Linked DNA regions of Homo sapiens: all the other regions are linked to region 3. The links are contacts of gene promoters, found by promoter capture Hi-C in blood cells and fetal thymus (Javierre and others, 2016). All regions are on one chromosome and are shown on one strand. Each heading gives the region's core, a stretch centred on a gene start or on the middle of the fragment in contact. The rest is flanking DNA. Distances are from core to core; before and after follow the strand shown.

Region 1 (4,956 bases), core at 1,783-4,282, 220 kb before region 3:
AAGGTAGGAGGCTAGCTTCCTGTACTGCCATTCTGAAAAGGCCTTCCTAGTACACAGCGCAATGCTCTGGTAGTGTTCACATATTGCCTGGCCAAACCAATGACCATTGGAACTCAATTTAGGAGGGAGGCTGGGAATATTCTCCTATGAAGATAGATGAGGTAGAACAGTGAGGCTGAGGAGATAAAAGGCAAACAAGGGCAATAGAATCCTCAGCCTTTCTTGTGTGGGGGCACAGAATTAAACAGTTTCCTTTCTGTAGTTAAGAGATATGTGGATCATTGATCCATTTGATTTTGATGAGCATTTTGACAAGTGCCTCAATTATCTACCACATTACCGTACGAGTGCTGGTAAGTTACTTTGTCCTTCCTACCTAAGCCCCAAATTTTAAACATTAATTTTCCACATGGCCAGGGACATTTTGTTTTTCTTTTCTCAGAGACTCTTAAGAACTGCACTGGAATTGGATCCACACTCTGAACTTGACCAAAAGCTGCAGAAGCACATAATGAAAAACCTTTTGAAGAAGCTTATTTCCTAGTTCTTGAATCCTCATAGAGTCTCTCTCTCTCTCTCTCTCTCTCTCTCTCTCTCTCTCTCTCTCTCTCTCTCTCTCTCTGTGTGTGTGTGTGTGTGTGTGTGCATGCACATGCATAAACAGGTGTACAATTATAAGTGACAACTTTTTTATATTTATCCAGTTAATCTCCAGCAACCCATTGTAATTCCAGCAAATTTACCCATCTGTGCCAACATAATACTGTGATGAACATGTCTTAAACCTTTAGTTAGATTTCTCAGTCCTAGAAAGTAGAAGCCATATTTGTTCTTTAGTTTGTTCTTTAACAATTTAGTACACTGTAAGAAGGGTATAGAGTGTATGTTTGGTAAATATAAGTTGACTGATTGTATATATATGAATATATGTGAATTCCTTAGTAAGAGATGTAATGACTAATGGATGTGTCAAATTAATTCTTAGAGAGTAAATCTTGACAGATTTCATCAGTGAATTCTGCCTAAAGTCAGTTTTAATTCCAAGTTCATTGGTTTGTATATCTTCTATACTGAATTTTCTTTTAAGTTTTTGCTGAGACCCATAAGTTGTTTTCTCATACATACCATGAAATACATAATTAAAAATGCCTGAACATGATGTTGATAGTTGAAAATACAGGTAGGTAACTCAATGTGTCTTTATAGATTGATGAAGGCCAGCCTATAGAGTATGTATCTGAATTCCGTACGATGACTCTGGTTTTGGTCAGCCTAGAGTTCCACAGGACAGCGTGGATGTTGCATTTGTGTCATCTTATCCAGGAGGCTGCCTTATACATCTCCACAGTCATTGAGAAAGGGGGCGGCCAGCTGAGTCGGATCTTTATGTTTGAGAAAGTAAGTACAAGGGAACTTGACCCATCAGCATTAAAGGTGAGTGAGGAGTAATGGTCTTGTACAACCAGTTGATCTCCCACATAATGCAAGTGTAAGTCAAATTCCCTGCTACTTATTTTGTAACAAGCTATATTACATTAAAACTTCAACTAATGTTAATTAAGGAATGGGATGTTCCTTTTTTTTTTTTTTTTTTTTTTTTTTTTTTTTTTTGAGGTGGAGTCTCGCTCTGTCGCCCAGGCTGGAGAGCAGTGGCGCGATCTCAGCTCACTGCAAGCTCCACCTCCCACGTTCATGCCATTCTCCTGCCTCAGCCTCCCGAGTAGCTGGGGACTACAGGCGCCTGCCACCATGCCCGGCTAATTTTTTTTTTGTATTTTTAGTGGAGACGGAGTTTCACCGTGTTAGCCAGGATGATCTCGATCTCCTGACCTCGCGATCTGCCTGTCTTGGCTTCCCAAAGTGCTGGGATTACAGGCATGAGCCACTGTGCCCGGCTGGGATGTTCTTGTTAATTTAATTTTCAAGGTTACTGAGGGTTACTCTCCATGTCATTTTTTATTGAATTCTTATTGAAGAATCCTTGTGAAAGCATAAAGAATGTTTTTCTGGTTCTATTAGTAAATTAAATGTAATCAAGTCTTTGTCAGATAATTAAAGATCTTGAAAAAAAGCAGAATCTTAACACTTGACATTATAGGTGAAGAAAATGTGGGCACATAGACTCAGCTCAAGGTATATACTAGAAATTAAATTTTTGAAAAGTTCTTGATAGCAATTTTTCTTGTGTTTTAAATTTCAGTTCTTTGAATAGTTAAATCAAGATTTTTGTTAATGTCTATGTTGCTGGCCAGGCACGGTGGCTCACGCCTGTAATCCCAGCACTTTGGGAGGCTGAGGTAGGCAGCTCACAAGGTCAGGAGATCGAGACCATCCTGGCTAACACGGTGAAACCCCGTCTCTACTAAAAATACAAAAAAATTAGCCAGGTGTGGTGGCGGGTGCCTGTATTCCCAGCTACTTGGGAGGCTGAGGCAGGAGAATGGCATGAACCCAGATGGCAGAGCTTGCAGTGAGCTGAGATCGCACCACTGCACTCCAGCCTGGGCGACAGAATCTCAAAAAAAAAAAAAAAAAAAAGTGTATGTTGCTGTGGCCCAGCATTTCCATTTTATGAATCATGTAGAATCTGATATTTCCAACAGAAGAGTGTTCAAGGATAGGGTCTGGGTTCATTCGGTGGAGCTGGTTTAGTTTAGGCAAGCCACATTCCTTTCCCAGGTAAGTGTCTCATTTCTTTGTTTGTCATCTATCCCAGGGCTGCATGTTCCTCTGTGTTTTCGGCCTTCCTGGTGATAAGAAGCCAGACGAGTGTGCACATGCCCTGGAGAGCTCCTTCAGCATCTTCAGCTTCTGCTGGGAGAATCTTGCTAAGACCAACTGAGGAGGAAGGTGGGGCAGAGAGGAGCTTCTCAGGCCCCAGGGGCTCTTCAGGCAGGGTAGGAGGCAGTAACAAGTGGCAGGGATTCAAGTAGTCCAGAATCTGCCTAACTCGGAGGGAACATGCTAAGGAAAGTGAGCAAACAAGATCTATTAAGAAATCACTAGATACAGATCTCTGTACTGGATACCCAGGGGAAATAAAGATACATTCCCATTCAGCGGGTCAGGAAAAGGGGAGAAACAGAACAGACATACCAAGATTCGAGAACACTGCAAGGGAACAAGCAAATGTGTAAATTAATGTGATGCAAATAACATGCCTGTGGAGAGGATGCAGAATAAAGGCTGCCTGTCTACGAGAGAGTATGAGAGAAGTTGTGGAGAAATTACCTAGATAGAAAGGAACCACAGCTGGTTAGCACTCTCTTGGCTTTCATTCTGGGTCTTTCCCAGATCTTATTGCTTTTTCTGGACCTTACACTGAACTGATCTCCCTCTTCCACATCCACGCCTCACCCAACCACCTTTCACAAAACCTAACCCAGATGAAGGTATAGAAAAATCTATTTTCCCACTAGTTGCATTATGATAAAGTTTGTTGGAAGTTTTCAATTGACTTTTTAAAATAGAAAGCTATGGAGAAAGTGTATACATGAATGAATTTTAAAAATAGTTACTTCCAATGTTAACATCGAATCAGATTGGTTTGCTTGCCACAACTTATTCAAAATGGATAAAAATTATATCAAACATGTACATAGTACTTTAACATTTATAGAATACTTTAGTATATGCTACCAATGTGAAAATTTGTATCCCTCTTTATTTTTTACTTTTTTTTAGAGACAGAGTCTTGCTCTGTTTCCCAGGCTAAAGTTCCGTGGCACAATCACGGCTCACTGCATCCTCAACCTCATCCTTCCAAGTAGCTCAGACTATAAGCACACGCCCCACACTGGGCTATTTTTTTTATTTTTAGTAGAGACAAGGTCTTGCTGTGTTGCCCAGGCTGCTTTCGAACTCCTGAGCCCAAGCGATCCTCCCACCTCGGCCTCCCAAAGTGCTGGAATTATAGGTGTAAGCCACTATGCCCAGGTCCTCTTTTATACATGAGGAAATAAAAGTCACAGAAGAGAAGTTACTAGCATATAACAGAGCTTGTAATGAAACCCAGATCTTCAGTCTTCAAATCCTGTGTTGTTTCATTACTTATCCCCCACCTGCCTCTTATAAAATGCAAATGCTCCCCCAAAAGAATAGAATATGCTATTAATGTGATATAATTATAGATACACGCTCATAGAATGTTACTATTGGAAAGGAATTTAGAGATTATCTGATCCAAGCCTTATTTTAGAGATAAGAAAGATGCTACAGTTGCTTAATAGATACTCAGACTCTGCCCAAGGCAAATACATGTTAACACTTCTTTCAGGTTTGGTGGGATCTGCAGATACTCCTATATCCTACCTCCCAATCTTATCTCCAGGGTGGAAATGCTGGGCAGTATTAGTCAGGGTTCTCTTAGAGGGACAGAACTAATATATATATGTATATATAATTATATATATTATATAGAACTAATATATATATGTAATATATATTATATATAAATATATATATATGTAAAGGGGAGTTTATTAAGTATTAACTTACATGACCACAAGGCCCCACAATAGGCTGCCTATAAGCTGAGGAGCAAGGAGAGCCAGTCCGAGTGCCAAAACTGAAGAACCTGGAGTTTGATGTTTGAGGGGAGGAAGCATCCAGCATCGGAGAAAGATGCAGGCTGGAAGGCTAGGCCTGTCTCGCTCATTTCACATTTTTCTGCCTGCTTTATATTCACTGGCAGCTGATTAGATTGTGCCCACCAGATTAAAGGTGGATCTGCCTTCCCTAGCCCACTGACTCAAATGTTAATCTCTTTTGGCAACACCCTCACAGAAACAACGCAGGATTAATACTTTGAATCCTTCAATCCAATCAAGTTGACACTCAGTATTAACCATCACATGGGCCATCCCTTCCAGTGCTGGTCTGTTCTGTTCTTGAAGTTTGTATTGACCTATGGCCTTCAAGGTCCCACCCTTGGCCCTTACTCTTAAAAGAGTCATT
Region 2 (4,677 bases), core at 181-2,680, 170 kb before region 3:
AAACAGACAAAAATCCTGCCCTGAAGGAGCTTAGGTTCTTATACAAGTTGGGAGCGGATGGCACAGCATGTGTTTGTGGGAAATTGGGAACCAGGAAACCTGGGACCTGGGTTTGGTTTTCTCACTGTTGCTCTTGCTGGGCCTCCTTGGAGAAGTAACTGACCTTCTCTGGGTCTATTCTGGAGGCACTTGGTCTTAAAACCCCCTCCAGTTCTGTTCTGCACATCTCTTTGCCATCATTTGGGACTGGGACCTCTCCTCTCGGCCTGGGGCTGGCTCTCCCTGCCCCGCCACTCTTGCTTGCTCTGCAGCCGCCCACATTGGTACCGACTTTCCTGACCTTTAACTTCCAGCTTCCCTATTTCTGTGGCTTTGTTCCCCTTTCAGGAAGGACCCGTCTCGGAGATATTTTGGGGGAGACATGAGGCTGCTATTTTGGGAACCCTCCTTAGGGCGGGGGAGATGGGCTTAGAGCACCAGCCTGTTGCTGGGGCAGCCCCCAGAGCCCCCTGCTTTGACTTCTCTCTTGGTCCTCCCTTGCCTGCCATCTTCAACCATTACTGTGACAGAGGCTTGAAAGATAGGATTGGGAAGTTGGTGGCTTGCCTTTTGGAACTAGAGAGACCAGATGGGCCGTGGCCCTCTCCCATCTGACCACCTCCCATCCATGCCTCAGAACCCCGCCTTCCCCCTGACCACCATCTAAGAAGCTGCAGGAACAAGACTCCATTTGGCACCGTCTCTCCTCTTGCCCAGGTTTGTCCAGTGCTCTGGGGGAGCAAAAGGTGCGCTTTCCTCAGCGGGAAGAAGCAATTGTGTACAAAAATTTGGTGTGTCAATTCCCCTCAACTCAGCAACGGAAATCTCTACGCTCCTCACCTCCCATCAAGAGCTGAGGACAAGGGGACCTTCAGAGCAGGGGAGAGAGTGCCCCAAAGATGCAGATGAACATCCTCAGGTTCTTTCCTCCTTTATAACTGTAGGGGCTCATAATTAGTGGCTTATAATTTCAGAGGCTATTACCAGTGCCAGTGCCCCCCAAAGCTTCCCCCAACTGCCAGCTAGTGCCTGGGATGCCACTGTTAGCACTCCTTCCCTTCCAATGCAACCAGAGTCCACCAGCCCCTTACATGTCCACATGCAGAAAGAGTCTGAGGGTAGGTTTTGATACTGGGGAGGGAAGGAGGGTGTGAAGAATATGGGCAGGGTGGGGAGGAGAGGAGTGCAGAACAGGGCACTCAGGCATGCGAGGACTGCCACCGCCTTCATAATTCACCCCAGGGCCCACCACCCGCGCCCCAACCACATGCTCAAAGTGAGGGAGAGAAGGCATCACAGGGCACGGAGGGGATCCTACCTGTGACAAAGAGTAAGATGAGCAGCCGGAGAGGCTCCATGCCACCCTTCCCCAGCCAAGGGCAGAAGCAGAGTGCCTTGTGCAAGATCTCGTCTTTCCCTTGAACTGCAGAAAAGAGAGGATCAGGCATGTCAGGCGCTGCCCACAGGAACTGGGCTCCTGGGGATTAAGCAATAGTCAGGACTGGGGTCTGGAGGCGGTGCAGGGTGGGGACAGAGGGGAGGAGGAGTCGGCCACTGCAGCCCTGGCAGAAGGAGGCTGAGTCTCCCAGACCTCTGAGAAGCCAGCCCACCCTCCTGCTGGTGCCAGCCAGGGTGGCCCCCAGATGGTTGGGGCTGGTAAGGCCCTGCACTGCTCAGTTTCCTTGCAGAGCCTAGCCCAGGGATCACTATCCTCACAGCTGTATTCAGACCCTCCACCAGCTGCAATGCCCGCCATCTTCTGGTTTCAGCCTTGCAAGAGTTGGAGAACAGCTGTGCCTTTAGAGGCCAGGACCCTCATCCAGCACCTCTTAGTTCATCCCCCCAGGGCTGTCATTCCTGTAGTGTGGCAGCAGTTAAGTACACAGCTCTGGAGCCAGACTTCCTGACTTTCTGGGTGTGTAACCACACATCCAAAACCTACCTGTGTCTGTTCCCTGATCTATACAGTGGGAATAATGATAGTGCAAAGGGTTATCAGGAGCACCATATGGGTTCCTACAGGTAAAGTGCTTTCCAGTAGGGCCTGACACACAGCATTCAACAAATACTAACTATTACCATTATCCTAGTTAGAAGGGAAAAGGGAAATGGGCTGTCCATAAGACAGAAAATTTTCTCTCCCACCTGGAATTTTCTGCCCAAGTTTAGCCTTCTTGGAACTGTTGGGTGTCTCCTGTGCACACATGCTCACACTGGTGTTTATTTTGTGCACACACATGCTTGAACTCCTGATCATCCTATCCTACAGGACAGGACAGGATATTTCTCAGAGTTCTGGGGGTAGGGGTGTGTTTTTCTACACGTACAGGTTCCCATGGTGATCCAAGCACAGGGACCCACGTGTGCAAAGGCACAAAAGTGTGAAATGGCCCAGTGAGTCGGGGATTGGATGGAGGAGGCTTGAGTCAATTCTAGGAGTGGGAAATGGAGTTGTGCTGGGAGTGGCAGAAGAGGCTGGAGAAGCCTGCAGGAGCCTGTAGATTATCAGGGTCTACTTTAGTTTCCTGCAAACACTCACTTATTTGTTCTTTTATTCATTTATTTACTCATATTTACTGTGCATCTAACTTACGGACAGGGAATGTGCTTGGAGATGGGGAATTCATAGTGAGGAGAAGACAGGCCTCCACTCAAAGGGCCAACTGCCCGGCCTTGCCCCAAGGGCCTGGGGGCTGAAGTCTGAGGCTGCCTGAAGATCACTCTGTAGGTACTCTTCTAGGGTCTTTTTCTAGAAGTCAGGTTTATTGGCCCATAATTTACATATACAAAAATTTACCCCTTTTAAATGTCTAGTTGTGTAAATGTTGACAAACTCATGCATCTCTATAACAACCACCACAATCACCATGTCTGTGTAACACAATACCATAATATAGAAAGTTTCATTTAGCTTAAGCGAGAGCCTTTGTGCCCATTTTAGCCAGTCTCTTTCTCTCCAATCCAGGGCCTGGCAACTACTAAGCTGACATCTGTTTCTGTAGCTTCCTGCCCTTCCTAAAATGTCATAGACATGGAATTAAATAGTATGTAGCCTCTTGGGTCAGTCTTTATTCACTCATCAGAATAAATTCAGCATGCGTGAAGTTTCACTTCTCAAGAATGTATTCCTTTTTATTGCTAAACCATCTTTCATTCTATGGTTGAACCACAAGTAGCGTATTCATTCACCCGCTGATGGATATTTGGGTTGTTTCCAGTTTGGGACAATTATAAATGAAGCCACTATAAACATTCATGTACATATGTTTTGTGTGGACATATGTTTCTATTACCCTTGGATAAAATCCTAAGAATGGGACTGCTGGGTCACATGTAAGTGTATGTTTAAGTCTATAAAAGCTGCCAAAGTCTTTTCCAAAGAGGCTGTACCATTTTTACATCCTTGTCAACAGTTAATATTGTCAGGTTTTAAAAAGCCTTTCTAATAGGTTTAAGGTGATATCTCCTTCAATTTTAACTTGTATTTTTCTAGTGAGTAACGATATTGGACATCTTTTTGTTGTTTATTGCCATCTGTACCTTCTTCAGCAAAGTATTAGTTCAAAACTTTTGTCCTGTCCATTTTTAATTGTTTATTATTATCATTATTATTGAGCTGTGAAAATTCTTTTTATTCTGGATAGCAGTCCTTTATCAGATATGTGATTTGCAAATATTTTCTTCTAGTCTGTAACTTTTTTTCTCATTTCCTTAGCAGCATTAGCAGCATCTTTTTTTTTTTTTTTTTTTTTTTTTTTTGAGACAGAGTTTTGCTCTTGTCACACAGGCTGGAGTGCAATGGTGAGATCTCAGCTCACTGCAACCTCCGCCTCCCAGGTTCAAGCGATTCTCCTGCCTCAGCCTCCTGAGTAGCTGGGATTACAGGCACCTGCCACCACGCCTGGCTAATTTTTTTGTATTTTTAGTAGAGACGGGGTTTCACCACGTTGGCCAGGCTGGTCTCGAACTCGTGACCTCAGGTGATCTGCCTGGCTCAGACTCCCAAAGTGCTGGGATTACAGGCATGAGTCACTGCACCCAGCCTAAATGGATAGATGTTATTTCTGATGAAGTCCAATTCCTTGATTTTTCTTTTTACAATTTGTGCTTTTCTGTGCTCTGTTAAAAAGTTTGCCCATCTCAGAGTCACAAATATTTTCTCCTATGTTTTCCATTGGAAGTTTTATAGTTTTAGGTTCTACATTGTGGTCTATGATTCATTTTTCATTAATTTTTGCATGTGGTATAAGATGCACTTTGCAATTTTTTCAACATATGAATGTCCAATTGTACTAGCATAATTTGTTGAGAAGACTTTCTTTTCTTCATTGAATTACCTTAGTGTATTTGTTGAAAATCAATTGACATGTAGGTCTAGTTCTGACTGTTCTGTTCCGTTGATCTATATGTCTATTCTTTCTCCAATATCACACTGTCTTGATAACTTACTGTAGCTTTACACTGTCTTAAAATCAAACAGTGGTTCTTCAAAATGGTTTTGACTCTTCTAGTTACTTTGCTTTGCCATGTAAAATTTAAAATCAGCTTGTGGATTTCTAATCCTCTTCTTCTCACCCCCAAAAATCTGTTGGGCTTTCAGTTGGGATTGCATTGACTCTATGGTTTAGTTTTAGAGGG
Region 3 (4,782 bases), core at 1,713-4,212:
CCTGGTTCTGTGCCTGACCCACCCTGAACTTCCTGTGAGGGAGCTGTGCGCCCAGACTGCAGCCTTGTGTGGGCAGTAGCTCAGGTCCCTCTGACCTCTCTGGCAGGGAAAAAGCTGCTCTGAGACCAGATGCTTTGAACCTGGCATCCTGGGACCAGGAAGGGCCATTGTTATGGGACCATTGTCATGGGAGCAGGAATAACCCTGTCAGGGCAATTGATGACTGAAGGATCCTGCTGGAGCTGGGGCAGAGAGCCATTGGGGTCAGAGGTATAAGCAGACTTGTTGGGGTTCAGGGAGAAGACTCCTTGGATCTGCAAAAGGCAAGCCTGGATGAAGAGTAAGGAAGTGCCCATGGAGAATCTCTGAGCCCAGGAGGAGCACCAGGTCAGGAGAGAGGAGGCCTGGGTGCTAGTCCTGGTTTGGCCCTGAAATAGCTGAGTGACTGTGGAAAGGCTACTTGCCTTCTCTGGACCTCATCTCCCTCAGTTGTGAAATCAGCACTGAGAGAAATTCCCTTTTGTCCCTGCTACTTCTGGTTCTATCATGGGGGAAATTTACAGCTACCCCTTCACCCCTGCCCAGCCTAGCTTAGCCCTGTGCTGCGTTTTGGGGATCACCTCCAGACCTCTACGGCTCCCTGCTTTCCCCATTTCTGCATCAGAGGCCAGCCCTCCCTTCCCATGGACCTACCCAGGCTCGGAGCCACTGTTGCAGGCTAGACTGGGCCTTGCTAGAAAAGCAAGTACATGAAGTCTCCAGCTCTCCCAGCTCCTTCTCTGGGTTCCTGTGAGTGTGTGTGACAATGAGTTTGGGAGAGGAGGTTGCTGAGGTTCCCAAGTTCTCTGAGGGACCTTCTCAGAGGGTGGGCAGGGAACCCAGAATCCCCCAGAACCCCAGGCTCTTTGACAGGACTTTGCTGTGCCCTGCTCTGATCGTGCCAAGGGGGAGGCACTATCCCTAGCTCTTCAAGAGACTTCTGAAAGGGCCCCAGATCCCACCACAGCTACCTGCCCCAGTCCCTCCTGCAGAAATTCAACTTGTGACAAGGGCTGTTGTGGGTCCCCAGGGAGCAGGGCCAGTCCCAGCCTGGATGAGGGGCTGCCTAAGCCCAGGCTTCCCTGCCCCCAGGTCCCAGATGCCAGAGGAAGCTGAGCGTGCAGATGGTTCCAGCAGGGGCCTCCCCCTAGGGTGCTCAAGGCCCCAAGTCTATGTGGAGGGTGCCCACCCCACTCACACAGGTGGGGAAGCCACAACACAGAGAGAGGGGCAGATTCCCCGCTTTGAGAGCTCCTGTCCCCTGGGGAGAGACGACACACTCTGACACAGCAGAGAACGATACAGAGCTGGCTGCAGGCTGAAGAGACACACAGCTAGTGGCACATAGCAAGGGGTGCTCTTGTAAGCTACAAGAAGGAGCTGTCACTTAGAGTCAGCAGGGGTCAGAGAAGGGGAAAGTCAGCATGGGAACACAGTTGCTGACACACACACACACACACACACACACACACACACACACACGGTGACGTGCCTCGGTGCCATCTGAGGACAGGGCCGCCTTCCTCCCCCTCGGGAGGATGCCCCCACCCTGATTTGGTATGTAATTATGTTCAGGGAGAAGCTGGGCCCCACTGTCGGCGAGGAAACCCCCTAAAAGCTCACCTCCGCCTGTGTGTGCAATTCAGTGGGAGCCTCTTTCTCACCCCTGGTTTCCTGTCATGTCTGTGGGTCGCATTTCAACCAGACCAGCCGGAAGGCTCCAGACCGAAGTCAGGAGGCCTGTTCTGGTCCTGTGTGACTCTGAGCAGGTGGCTGACCATATCTGGGCCTCAGTTCTCACATCTGTGAAAAAGAGAAGTAATGTCTCCCTCGCGAACCTGCTGAGGGTCTTGAGAAAGTGTGCATGAGAATGCTTTGTAAATAATGCTTGTGTGAGTGAGTGGCGGGCATCGCTCCCTGAGCTGTCTTCTAGCTCTGGAGCTCCAGCCTGCTTTCCCACCTTGGGCCCTTGGGCGCCAACATCTGATAGCCCTACTGTGTCCTCCTTTTGCATACCCCTCTGCCTTTCCCATTCTCAGTCTCTGCATACTCCTACTGTAAGGAGAAGGGCAGTGTACTGAGATGGAGTGGAGAGCAGGAGTCCAGGGGCAGGCAAAGCAGTGGACTTGGAATCGAGTCCACTTGACAAGTTCCAATTCCCGTCTCAGTTATTACCTCTGTTCACAGAGCTCCCGGCAGCAGATCGCCAGTCCAGCAGAGCCCCCAGTGGTGCAACTGCAATTACACACAGTGTCTCTACCAGTCCTAAGATATATTAGCTCGTTCTCTTTGTAAATTGCATCGTATTTTAAAACTGAATCTTCAAAGTGCTGACATTAACTAAAGAAAAATATGCTAGAGTCTTTCATCTGTTTATGTTTTAATTAAACAATATTTCTCCAGGGTCCTTAAGTGGCAGAGGTCCAGGATGCAGAGATGAGGCCAGGTCCTGGTTCCTGGGCTCCCTCTACCCCACCCCACTGATGCATCCCATGCTCCGTGTGCTCTTCCCACCCTCCCCTCCCCGACCTTTGCCAGGGACCCTCCCTAGCCTCCCTTGCTGGTTTTGAATCTCCACCTCCTCTCCCCTCTCCTTTCCCGCACCCACGAAACTCCCAGAGTGGAAGCACATCACTGACCCACCATGGAGGCCTGGGCATGACGTCCCTGGCCATCCTGTGACCAGTGAGGCTTGGGGCTTGTGATCAGGGTTCCAAGTGCCCCTGAGTTTGTCATCCACCCTCAGCCTGCCTTTCCCTGGAAAGGGCGGCAAAGCTAGGGCCCTGCAAAGAAGAGAGGCAGCACACAGAGGGAGCAAGGGGGAAGCAGTCCATAACTCGCCCACAGTTTCCTCCTGGCCTTTTCAGCTCCTCCCTCAGGGGTAGGTCATGGTGGGGAGGGGCAGCTGGGCACAGGGGAGAGCAGGCATCTTCTACAGAGGCCTGGGAAGCTGTGTGCCAGACAGCGCCGAGCCCACCAGACCCAGACTCACCTACAGCTGGAGATCCCCACTTCCCTGTGCCCACAGAATCTGCCCTTTGCAGTCTCCCATCTCCCCAACCCAGGCCTCAGCCTGTCTCATTTTTCTATCAGACGTGCTGGAAGAGCAGCAGAATCAGGCCCAGCTCCCAATTCCCTCTCCCCAGTCTTCTCCAGGTGTCCCCTCCCATGAGCGCACAGGAAAAGGACCACATGGCCTGGCGAGCCCTACACCCACTGCTACTGCTGCTGCTGCTGTTCCCAGGTGAGGGGGAGGAGGAGCCCAGGGAGCAGAGGAGATGGGTGTGGTGGGGACTGTCAGGACAGCAGGGTCAGGGAGCAGGTGGCTCTGTGGCCAGAGGCCTGCTGTGAGGCAGGTTGTGCGCGTGGCCTTGACCTATGCGTTACTTCATCATTCTCCAGGCTCTCAGGCACAATCCAAGGCTCAGGTACTTCAAAGTGTGGCAGGGCAGACGCTAACCGTGAGATGCCAGTACCCGCCCACGGGCAGTCTCTACGAGAAGAAAGGCTGGTGTAAGGAGGCTTCAGCACTTGTGTGCATCAGGTTAGTCACCAGCTCCAAGCCCAGGACGATGGCTTGGACCTCTCGATTCACAATCTGGGACGACCCTGATGCTGGCTTCTTCACTGTCACCATGACTGATCTGAGAGAGGAAGACTCAGGACATTACTGGTGTAGAATCTACCGCCCTTCTGACAACTCTGTCTCTAAGTCCGTCAGATTCTATCTGGTGGTATCTCCAGGTGAGCTCTTTCCCTAGGGTCCTCAGAGGGGTGCCCCTCACCCCCTTTTGGTGCCTCCATCACCCCTGGTTTCCCAATCGTGGAAGCCACCCATGCCCACGCCCCAGTCTCCTGGGAAGGCTGTTGGGAACAGGTGCAGGGGGAACTCATATGTGCACAAGAGCAGCCATCTCACAGTCTGCATGACTCCCAAGCCTGCAGCCTGGGCCTCCTGAGAGATGCTGAAACAGACCCGGTGAGCATGCTGACCAGTCAGCCTATATGACCCTGCTACAGGAGGGCAGGACCACCCGGCATCTTTGGTACATAGTAGGTGCCCAGGAAAGGTGCATCCACTGGCTGCCCCCACCATGTAGAGCCAGTGGTATCTGGGTAGTCTAGATACCAAGATACTATGGGTATCCCTCATAGTCCAGATCGGGGACTAAGAATGAGTGAAAAAAACTAAGAATGAGTGAAAAAAAATCAAAAGAAAAACAATATTTTGTGACATACAGGAAATTCAAATTTCAGTGCCTATAAGTGGAGTTATTTTTTGGAACACAGCCATGCCCACTCAATTACCTATTGTCTGTGGCCCTTTTCATGCTGTGACAGCAAAATTGAGCAGCTGTGACAGAGACCACATGGCTCATCCCTGACCCTTTACAGAAAGTGTGCCAAACTCCTGCTCAGAGCAGAGCTACCCACAGTTCCTGTGGAAGAGGACCTTCTAAAAAAAAATCTGCAATTCACATGAGTAATTTTTTTTGTAAAATACAGTAAAAAAAAATTACTAGAAAAATAAGAAAAAGATATATAAAGTACAAGCCCAACATTTATTAAATTTGACAAACATAAAATTACATTTTAATGAATACAATCAGAACAAATATCACATAGGGAAAAATTTATAAAAACTGTATACATTGTTCATTTGAAAGTGTGCCTAAAGGTGATTGATGTAGTGGCTTAACGGTATACCCATAACGTTTTGTCATTCCTCAGTTAAAACTAAGT
Region 4 (4,390 bases), core at 1,291-3,790, 240 kb before region 3:
CTATCCAAAGAATCCCTCTACCTGGAGCAGAGATGCTTGAAGAAGAGCCTCTCTACGTGAATGCCAAACAATACCACCGTATTCTTAAGAGGAGGCAAGCCCGAGCTAAACTAGAGGCAGAAGGGAAAATTCCAAAGGAGAGAAGGGTATGTATAACATTGGGAAGGATATAGGAAAGGAGAATAGCAGGGTTCTACTTTTGAAATTATCTTTTATATGGCTTGTTTTCTCACGTACCTTCCAAACAATTGACGTTAGATACTTGTTGTCTCTTTTGTAAGAGTTAGCATTTGTTATTACTAATATGCAGCTGCAGTTATAATAACGAAAACAAACAGTGGCTTAAATAAGATGTTATTCCTTTTCATACATAAAAGTAGTCCAGAGATAAATTATCCTGGACTGGTAGCACATTTTCACAGTTCTCAAGACCTGTTTCACTGCTTTAATATTGCTAGTGTGCTGTTCATGGTCCAAGATTCCTGCTTAGGCTCCAGCCTAGGAAGAAAGGGAACAAGAAAGGTACCCTTTCTTTTTTTTTTTTTTCCTGAGACTCAGTCTTGCTCTGTCATCCAGGCCGGAGTGCAGTGGCACAATCTCAGCTCACTGCAACCTGCACCTTCCATGTTCAAGTGATTCTCCTGCCTCAGCCTCCTGAGTAGCTGGGATTACAGGTGTGCGCCACCACGCCCAGCTTATTTTTGTGTTTTTAGTAGAGACGGGGTTTCACCATGTTGGCCAGGCTGGTCTCGAACTCCTGACCTCAGGTGATCCACCTGCCTGGGCCTCCCAAAGTGCCGGGATTATAGGCGTGAGCCACCATACCCGGCCAGGTACCCTTTCTTTCAAGGAAACTTTGAAGAAGTTGTGTACCTTCCACTAGCCGGAATTTAGTTACCTGATCACACCTAACATGCAGATAAGGCTAGGAAAGTCCAGCCTGGTGTGGTGGCAAATGCCTGTAGTCCTACTTGGAAGGCAGAGGCAGGAGGATCACATGAGCCGAGGAATTCAAGGCTGCAGTGATTCATGATCATGCCACTGCAGTCCAACAGCAAGGGTGTCAGAGTGAAACCCTGTTTCTAGAAAATAATAATAATAAACTTTAATGCTAGGAAAGTCTTTTTACTGAACACTCATTTGCTCAAACGAAATTTGGCCTGTTATTAAAGCAGAGGAAAGTGTATATATTGTGAAGTGTAGGTGGTAGTCTGTTATTTTTTTTAAAAAAAATTCATACTATAAGCATTCACAGTCTTACAGTAGTTATATATGGTTAGCTATATTACTTACTAGGTGTTTTCTCCAAAGCTTCCATCGTCATTCTAAGTCATAATTGTCCCTTGTGACTTTGATCCCAGCTGTCTTAAACTTTGGAGAATGGAATTTGTGCACTAGATAACTGTGCTGGTTCTGGATAGTATTAATAGTTAAATGGTTTTATTTCTCGTTTTAGAAATACCTGCATGAGTCTCGGCACCGTCATGCCATGGCACGGAAGCGTGGTGAAGGTGGACGATTTTTCTCTCCAAAGGAAAAGGATAGTCCCCATATGCAGGTAGGAAGACATATACATTTTATTCTTCTCTTTATTACCTTGTATTGACTTGAGTTGAAGCCTTCAGCAGTGTCCTCTTGCTATTTTCCTACTCTGGGACTACTCACATTCTCTAAACTGGATGCAATCTTATGTCTCTTTAGATTATCTTTTATCTTAAAACCACTAGGCCAGACTTGGTGGCTCATGCCTGTAATCCCAACACTTTGGGAGGCTGAGGTGGGAAGCCCAGGATTTCAAGACCAGCCTGGGCAACATGGCAAAACTCCATCTCTACAAAAAAATACAAAAACTAGCCAGGCCTGGTGATGCATGCCTGTAGTCCCAGCTACTTGGAGGGTTGAGATGCTCTTCGTCTTTGTCACTTATTACTATTCATTCTTTCTTGAAAATCACACTTTTCTTAATTTTCAAGGAACAAGTTTTATTTTTATTGAACAGGTTTTATTACCCCATCACAAATATAATTTGAATGTTTACTTTTTTCCCTTCTAACTGATGTGAGCCTGGTCTAATCCTCTCTTCTTTGGCTTAGATTTATAAAATAGCTGCTTAATTTGGTTTCCCTTCTTCCACTTTTGTTCCCCTCTAGCCTACTCTCCACATCCTAGTGTGATCTTTTTAAAATGTTTATCCTATCAAGTCCCTGTTCTGCTCAAGCTCCTTCAACCCCTACCCTTTCCCATTTGCACTTAGACTGACATCCAAAGTGCTTACTACTATGCCCAGCAAAGCCTTACATGCTCCAGCTCCTGTCTACCTCTAACTGCATTTCTACTTCTTGGTCTCTATGCTGCTGTTTACTGTTCATTGGTCTACTTCCTGCCACGGGTCTTTGTCCTTAGAATTTTCAGTCTGTATGCCCTTTATCTTTTTCATGCATGTCTATCTCCCTATCTGTTAGGTCTGGGTTTAATTAAATACCCTATCTAGAATAGATCTCTTCTCTCTCAGTATGTTCTTACAACATCTTTTCTTTTTTTGGAGGCAGTGGTGTGATTATGGCTCACTTTAGTCTTGACCTCCCAGCTCAAGTGATCCTCCCACTTTAGGCTCCCGAGTAGCTGGGACTATAGCCACGCACCACCATGCCCAGCTAATTTTTAAATTTTTTGTAGAAATGGAGTCTCACTTTGTTGCCCAGGCAGGTCTCAAACTCCTAGGCTCAAGCGATCCTCTCGCCTTGGCCTCCCAAAGTGCTAGGATTACAGGCGCACACCATTGCACTTGGCCCTTTTCTTTACAGTGTAATAATATTTAAGTTGTTGAATTTTTCAAGATTGTTTCCTTCACTAGACTGTAAGTTGTATAGAGGGTAGAGGATTGTTTCGTTCTCTGTTATATTTATTGGACTTAATTCTATTTAAGTAAGTTGTATTTAAGTACTGACTTAGATGTATTTGTTGGGTTTAGTATCCAGTTCTGAACCAAGCAATCAGTGTTTCTTGAATTAATAGATTCCTCCCATTTGCTGATACTCCATTCTATATTAACATCACATTCCACTTGCACTATTGCAATATCCATCAAATTAATCTCCAGTCTCCTCTAATTGGCCTTATATAGTACTTATACAGTACATGGTTAAAGTGTTTTTTTTAACCTGCCAGTCCCCAGGTCAAGGATGCATGCTATTAATAGTTCTCATTTCTTAACTGCATCAAATCTCAAACTATTTCTGTATAACATCTAAGCAACTTTGCCTTATCACCCCCTCAACAATCAAACTAGGTTTCCTCAGTGTCCCCACACATGAACACTAACAACTCTTTCAGTGCTATTAATCCTCACCTGTAGTGTGAGAGCCCCTCCTTTCTCATTGCTATTCATTCATAACGGTGTATGAATGTGGGCCTGACAGCTATTGTGGCAGGAGGGCATTGTGCCAGGAACTCTCCTCATTCTGTGTGCTAACAATATGATCTTGGTCAATTCAGCCTCTTTTATTTTTATCTGTAAAGTGGAATACTGTTGATACTTCACAGCAATGTTGTAGGGATTTCATTCAGTAATCCACATTAGGCATCTGTGTAGCACCATACCTAGTGCATGGTGAGTTCAGTAAATGCTAGTTGTTTTTGCTCATTGTTCAAGACCCAGTTCCAGTCTTCCATCTCCAGAAGGCTTTCAGCTTTTTCTCAGATCCTGCCTACCAAGGCTTCAGAGCCTTGGTATGGGGGAACTAAAGGTGGTTCTTGCGGAGTGTTGCAAAAAGCTTCCAAGGATTTATCCTTGTGTTAACACGGTAGGTCTTAAGTGAGAAACAGCATATAGAGTTTAGTGGAAAGAAGATGAAATGGGAGTCAGGAGATTTGGGAGTTAGCCCTTGCTGGACTCCTAACTTTCTGACCCTGACCCTAGTCCACGCAAATCACTTTACCCATCTGGCCTTCAGATTTATCTGTAAAACGAGTACATTAAAGTGTATAGATTCTAATGATTCTTTCTAGCCCTGCTAAGTACTCAGTATTTAAATGATGATCAAAAAACAGTGACAAAAATACAGCATGACATGGTTTCTCTGGGTCTTTTCCTTAGACACCTGAATCTGAATACTCTTAACCCTTAAGTATAGAGAACAACACAAGGTTCTTAGGAAAGAGATACACTAACAGCCCTGCAGTGTTTCACCATGGAGTGCAGGCCAGACTTTAAATTATTTTAAGAATAAGGTTTATTGTCTCTTCTTTCCTAATGGGGCTACACTTTAAGCCATGTATGCAGACTTAAGATGTATTACAAGCCTTTGATTTACTTGGTAAAGTTATGTGTATTCTCTTGGGGGGATAAGTAGTGAGAGCCATGAGTTCCTGTTGCTTTTGCAAAGGACTT
Region 5 (4,896 bases), core at 1,272-3,771, 240 kb after region 3:
GTATCCCCAGCCCCTAGCCTGGTCCCTGGCACGCAGCAGGTACTTCATAGATGTGAGAAGAGTGGTGAGTGAGGACCCATGTATGAGAAGGAATGGTGGGAAGCTGAGGGAGGGGAGCCTTGGCCAGACCTAAGGTCTTACCTGGCTCTCATCTGGCCTGGTCTTGGCAGGAAGAAGGAAAGGGGTTGTGGGTAGGGGGTGTAGGGGGAGGAAGGGCCTGTCACAGGGAGGGGGAGGTCTCAGGAATGAGACTGCAAGGCCTTGCCATTTTTTTCCTGTAAATCATGTAATTTCATGCTCCAGGGGACCACAAAGTAAGAGAGTCAGTGGGGAGTCAACTCCCCTGGCCACCCCCCACCCCACCCCAGGAGACTGAGCAGGGCTCTGCCCCCAACTGCCCCCAGGAGCCCCTCCCTGCTGTTCCCTCCTGTCCCCCGGGGATCTGGAGTGTGTCATCTCCCCACCCCAACCAGTGTCCCTTTTGGGTCGCCTGGGCTGGCCAGCCTCTCTGAGCCATCTTCTTCCCCTACCCTTGTGCCCTGGCCTCTGACCCCTGTACCCCCTCAACCCTACTCTACCTCCACCTTTGGAGGACAAAGAGCACTTGTCAGTAGACCTGGAGGAGTTTGTAAAAGCAAGGTAGTAGAGGCAGGGGCTCCTTCCTAATGACCACCTGACTCCCTGCCCTTCCTCACCCGCAACCCCCCCCCCCACCCTTCCTCCTCTTTCCGCAGAGCCTTTTGACTTAGAAAGGTCAGATTTCTGCTTTCTGAAGTGAATCTGGAAGAGGAGAAACATCCTGTCCCCCTCTGGAAGCCCAGGGCACTTCTCTGGGTGTGACATCCAGGGAAGGAGGTGGGGTGGGGGTGGCCTGTGAGGAGCACACCAATCTGAGCTCCAGGTTTGCTGCAGGACACCTTCCCGTCAATAGGCCAGTGCATATTTAGTTGCCCTCCTAGGGTAAACTAGATTTAAAGCCTCAGGAGGCTCGGCTGTTTGCACTGATGATGAACGGACGCGAAGGTGGTTGTGTGTATATGCTTGGTACACAGTGGTCACTCTCTTTGCTTGTTGAGCGATGATGGGTGGTGCAGCCATATCCCACCTTAAAAGGTTTTGCCTTGAAGGTGCTTGTGGTGGGGTAGGAGAATAGGGGCCCATACAGAAAAAACAAGTGTATGTGTGGACAGATGTGAGAGAGAGCCACAGGCGGGCGCATTTCGTCTAATAAGTGCGCAGGGCACGAGGCTATGTTGGGGAGAGGCTGGAGGAGGTGAAGTGGAGAATTGTGGAGAGATTAATGAGAGCCGAAGGGAGTGAATACTTCCCGAATGCCAACTGGATGCCAAACATTGGTCCTTTAATCCCCCTAGTAATTTGGAGATGGGTAGTTTCCCAGTTTTGCAGATAAGGAGACTGAAGTGCAGAGAACTGGAATAACTTGCCCAAGGTCGCAGCTGGCAGGCCGCACAGCTGGGATTCAGACCCAGGACTGCCTAAGGTTGGAGCCCTGTGTCAAGGGCTTAGACACACCTGCACTGGCTCCCAAGGGGGTCTTGAGCAATCTGGAAGCAGATAAATTTTGTGCTGCTGAAATGTGGATTCAGAACTTGCCTTCAAACCTCCCACTGAAGCATAGTGAGGACATAGAGGGCTTGACTGGCCTCATAGATAATTTCCTGGGCCCTCCTGACCCCTCACTCCTACCAGACGTCTCACTGCCCATCAGTTTACCTTCCGGGCCCCTCCTACTCCTTGACTGTCACACTGACCCACTGGAGTGATTCCTCCAGCAATCTCCATATGCCTCCCACTCGTATGACCCCTCTGGCTCAGTTCAGTCTAAGCCACTGTGGCCACCAAGCCCACAGCACGATGGTCCATGCATCTCTGCTGATAGTATACCTTTCAGAACTTAATCTAATTCCTCCAGCAGCATGCATGTACAATCCTTGAACTCAGAAAGTCACACGGTACTCAGACCTTGTGCCACTGACCCCAGGGCTCTTCCCTCATCCTCCCAACTGTGTGCTCTGGCTCCACAGTGAATGCTACTTTTTAGCCCCCAGACTGACCACCCAGTAAGGCAGTTGGCCTTGGAGCCAGGCTTCCTGGGCTCAAATCTTGGCTCTGATGCCGCCTAGCTGTATGATCCTGGGTAAGTTACTTAACCTCCTGGAGACTCCGTTTCCTCATCTGCAAAATGGGGCAATAATCCCTACCTTACAGCCTTACAGAGGAAGATTAAATAAGCTCTTGCCTGTACAGTGCCTGACCCATAGTAGATGCTCAACAAATAGTACTGATTTACTAATGCCCTGAGTCAACCCCCTTTATTTTCCTCTAAGAGTCCCTTTTTGACCATGGGCCCTTCCATTTGCTGTCCCCATTGAGTCCTAACAAAACTTCACTGGGTCCCAGGCTGAGTCTGTAGAGGCTCTGATCCCTGAACCCCAACAGCTCTTCTCAGTGACTTCTACTACCCTTACCCCAAGCCCTTATGGACCCATGACCCTCTCACCCCCAAGACCTTCCACCTTACCCTGATCTCCTTCTCCTTACTGCCCCAAACACTCCCTAATCCCTGGATCCCACCCAGCCTCCCAGGCCATTGCTGACTCAGCCCCTGTCTTGCAGGCTCTCCAAGTGGCCCGGCAGTTCCTGCTGCAGCAGGCCTCAGGCCTGAGCTCCCCAGGGAACAATGACAGCAAACAGTCTGCCTCTGCTGTGCAGGTGAGGAAGAGAGCACCCCGCTGGCTCTGGGTTGGGCTGGAGTGTGGGCCTGGCACAGAGGGAGGGCAAGGACCCGTTGGAGAACTGCTCTTGCCAGTTCCAACACCAAAAAGTGGGCAACTTTTCAAAGGAAATACAGTCACTGCAGGGGTGGGGCAAAAAGGCTTCCCACTTTCTCTCGTCTCCACCTGATCAGCCAGACCTTCCGCTAGCTTAGCCTCTTTGTCCCTGTCACTCAAAGTTTGTCTGCAGCTCTCCCTGTCTCTTTGTACCTCTCTCACTGTTTGTTCTCCCCTGCCTCTTCCCTTCAGGGTCTCTCTTGGTCACTTCTCATGTTTCTGCGTCCCTGTCGGTCACTCCCTCTGTCCCTCTGTGTTCCTGTGTCTGGGGCTCAGCCCCTCCCAGGCCATCTCTGTTGCTGCAGTCACGTCACCAAGTCCCCCCTTCTCTTATCCTCCCCCCTTATCCCTCATCCACCAGCTCTCTCGCAGTCTCTCCATGCTTCCTGTCTCTTGATGTCTCTCTGTCTCTTTTGTTTTCCTTTGCACAATCTGCCCTTTTTTCCCCTTCTCCCTTCCCTCCAGCTTGCCAGCCCATCTGGCTGGCTGGGGGAGGGGAGATCTGTGGGGGGTGGGCGGGGGGTGGGGGAGCCAGGCCTTCTGTTTACCTTTTGTGTCACAAAGAACTTGGGAGAATTGCAGTCTGAGTCCGGGTTGGGTCACTACTCGGGCAGCCACTCCCCTCCCCCTCTGCCCAGCAGCCCGGGATCCATGCTCCCCCCACCCCTCCCCCAGCAGAGGGAGGCTCAGAATTGGGGAAGGGATTAAGCCAGGCTTTGAAAGGAAGTTTATCTAAGGGAAGAAGGGTGAGTATGGTTGGTTCTGAGCTGGAGGTGCTCTGGAGTCTGGGGCTGGGTGCTGAGGGAAGTGAAGAGGAGGGTGGGGTGGGTGCAGGGTGCTCAGAGAAGGACCCAGGACCAGGCTTTGTCCTGGGTGGAGATTCCAGTGCTCTGACAAAGTCTGAGTTTTATGTAAAACAAGTTTATGTTTGGAAAAAGTTCAAGGTGCCCAACAGATGTGCAGCCTTAACAGTAACCCTCTTAAAATTCTTGACCCTAAGGAGACAACCCTCAAAGGGGAGGAGCTGGGCAAAGATCAGGGCGTGGCCTGGGGTGGAGGAGGGGAAGACACAATCTGGAAAGTCAATAAAGAGAGGAAGAGAAAGATCTCATCAGAATGAGATCTAAAAGGTTCTCATACCCATGCTGGTCAGGATTGGGCCTCTTTAAATTAATGATCCCCACATACAATCCCAGGGTTTGAAGTGGTCCTTGGGCTTCCACTCTGAATCCTGCCCGCCCTGGACCCAGCTTAGAACAGGAAGGAGTAGGCTGGACAACAGCAAACGTTCCCCCAAACCAGAAAGGGGCTGCTGACCCAGGGGTAGGAGGGTAGGAGCTTGATGGTAGTGGGAGGGACTGGGGTAAGACATCTAGAAGGACTGCTCAGCTGGGGATTAAGGGTCACAGATCTGAAATAATTGAGAGCTGAAGGGAGACTATGGAATCTTCCTTAGGAAACTCCCTCCCTCCAAAATAAGAGAGGCCTAGAGGTTTCAGAGTCAGAAAGACAGATAAAATGATGTTTTTCTCAGGCCTTCTCTCTCCTTGTCTCATTACTTCCAAAAATTCATTGATTGATTCATTCATTCATTCAACAAATACTTACTGAGTACATCCCAAACTAACAACTGACATATACAGAGTGCTTACCATGAAGTGTAGACACTAAGCGCTTTACAGCTATCTCATTTATCCTCACAGTCCTATGGGAGAGGTGCTATTCTAGCCCCATCTTGCAGATGAGGAAACTGAGGCCCAGAGAGGTTAAGAAAGTTGTCCAAAGTTATACAACAAATAAAAGACAGAGTGAGGATTTGAACCCAATAGCTCCAGAACTCACACTTTTTTTTTTTTTTTTTTGAGATGGAGTCTCTTGTTGCCCAGGCTGGAGTGCAATGCCGTGATTTCAGCTCACCACAACCTCTGCCTCCCGGGTTCAAGCAGTTTTCCTGCCTCAGTCTCCCAAGTAGCTGGGATTACAGGCATGCACCACCAAGCCCAGCTAATTTTGTATTTTTAGTAGGGTTGTATTTTTAGTAGGT

The links. The method cuts DNA at HindIII sites, captures the fragments that hold promoters and counts their contacts. A CHiCAGO score of 5 or more calls a contact.
Region 1: a contact is called between a fragment that was not itself captured here and the fragment with the promoter of NCR2 in region 3, in 2 of 17 cell types (neutrophils and monocytes). The highest score is 6.5, in neutrophils.
Region 2: a contact is called between the fragment with the promoter of TREM2 here and the fragment with the promoter of NCR2 in region 3, in 2 of 17 cell types (neutrophils and monocytes). The highest score is 9.6, in neutrophils.
Region 4: a fragment that was not itself captured here is called in contact with the fragment with the promoter of NCR2 in region 3 in 6 of 17 cell types (neutrophils, megakaryocytes, M0 macrophages and 3 more); the score reaches 9.1 in neutrophils.
Region 5: a contact is called between a fragment that was not itself captured here and the fragment with the promoter of NCR2 in region 3, in 4 of 17 cell types (naive CD8 T cells, M1 macrophages, M0 macrophages and 1 more). The highest score is 9.3, in naive CD8 T cells.

Annotation. Positions count from the first base shown.
Region 1 is chr6:41,108,507-41,113,462 of GRCh38, forward strand. It overlaps the pseudogene ADCY10P1. Among named protein-coding and RNA genes, the nearest start is that of NFYA, 38 kb to the left of the region's middle. The HindIII fragment of the contact is 5,004 bases long and covers 531-4,956 here.
Region 2 is chr6:41,161,686-41,166,362 of GRCh38, forward strand. TREM2 (triggering receptor expressed on myeloid cells 2) reads right to left here and starts at 1,431. Exons shown (of 5, transcript NM_018965.4): 1 at 1,358-1,431. The coding sequence starts at 1,397. The HindIII fragment of the contact is 7,981 bases long and covers 1,043-4,677 here.
Region 3 is chr6:41,332,646-41,337,427 of GRCh38, forward strand. NCR2 (natural cytotoxicity triggering receptor 2) reads left to right here and starts at 2,963. Exons shown (of 5, transcript NM_004828.4): 1 at 2,963-3,283; 2 at 3,442-3,783. The coding sequence starts at 3,232. RefSeq lists an enhancer at 1,581-1,710. The HindIII fragment of the contact is 13,900 bases long and covers 1-4,782 here.
Region 4 is chr6:41,092,940-41,097,329 of GRCh38, forward strand. It overlaps NFYA (nuclear transcription factor Y subunit alpha), which reads left to right. Exons shown (of 10, transcript NM_002505.5): 8 at 1-146; 9 at 1,457-1,558. It also overlaps a transcript of OARD1 not described here. Among named protein-coding and RNA genes, the nearest start is that of NFYA, 22 kb to the left of the region's middle. The HindIII fragment of the contact is 2,462 bases long and covers 1,310-3,771 here.
Region 5 is chr6:41,575,349-41,580,244 of GRCh38, forward strand. It overlaps FOXP4 (forkhead box P4), which reads left to right. Exons shown (of 17, transcript NM_001012426.2): 3 at 2,638-2,733. Among named protein-coding and RNA genes, the nearest start is that of MIR4641, 21 kb to the right of the region's middle. RefSeq lists enhancers at 3,029-3,652, 3,653-4,275. The HindIII fragment of the contact is 6,912 bases long and covers 1-4,896 here.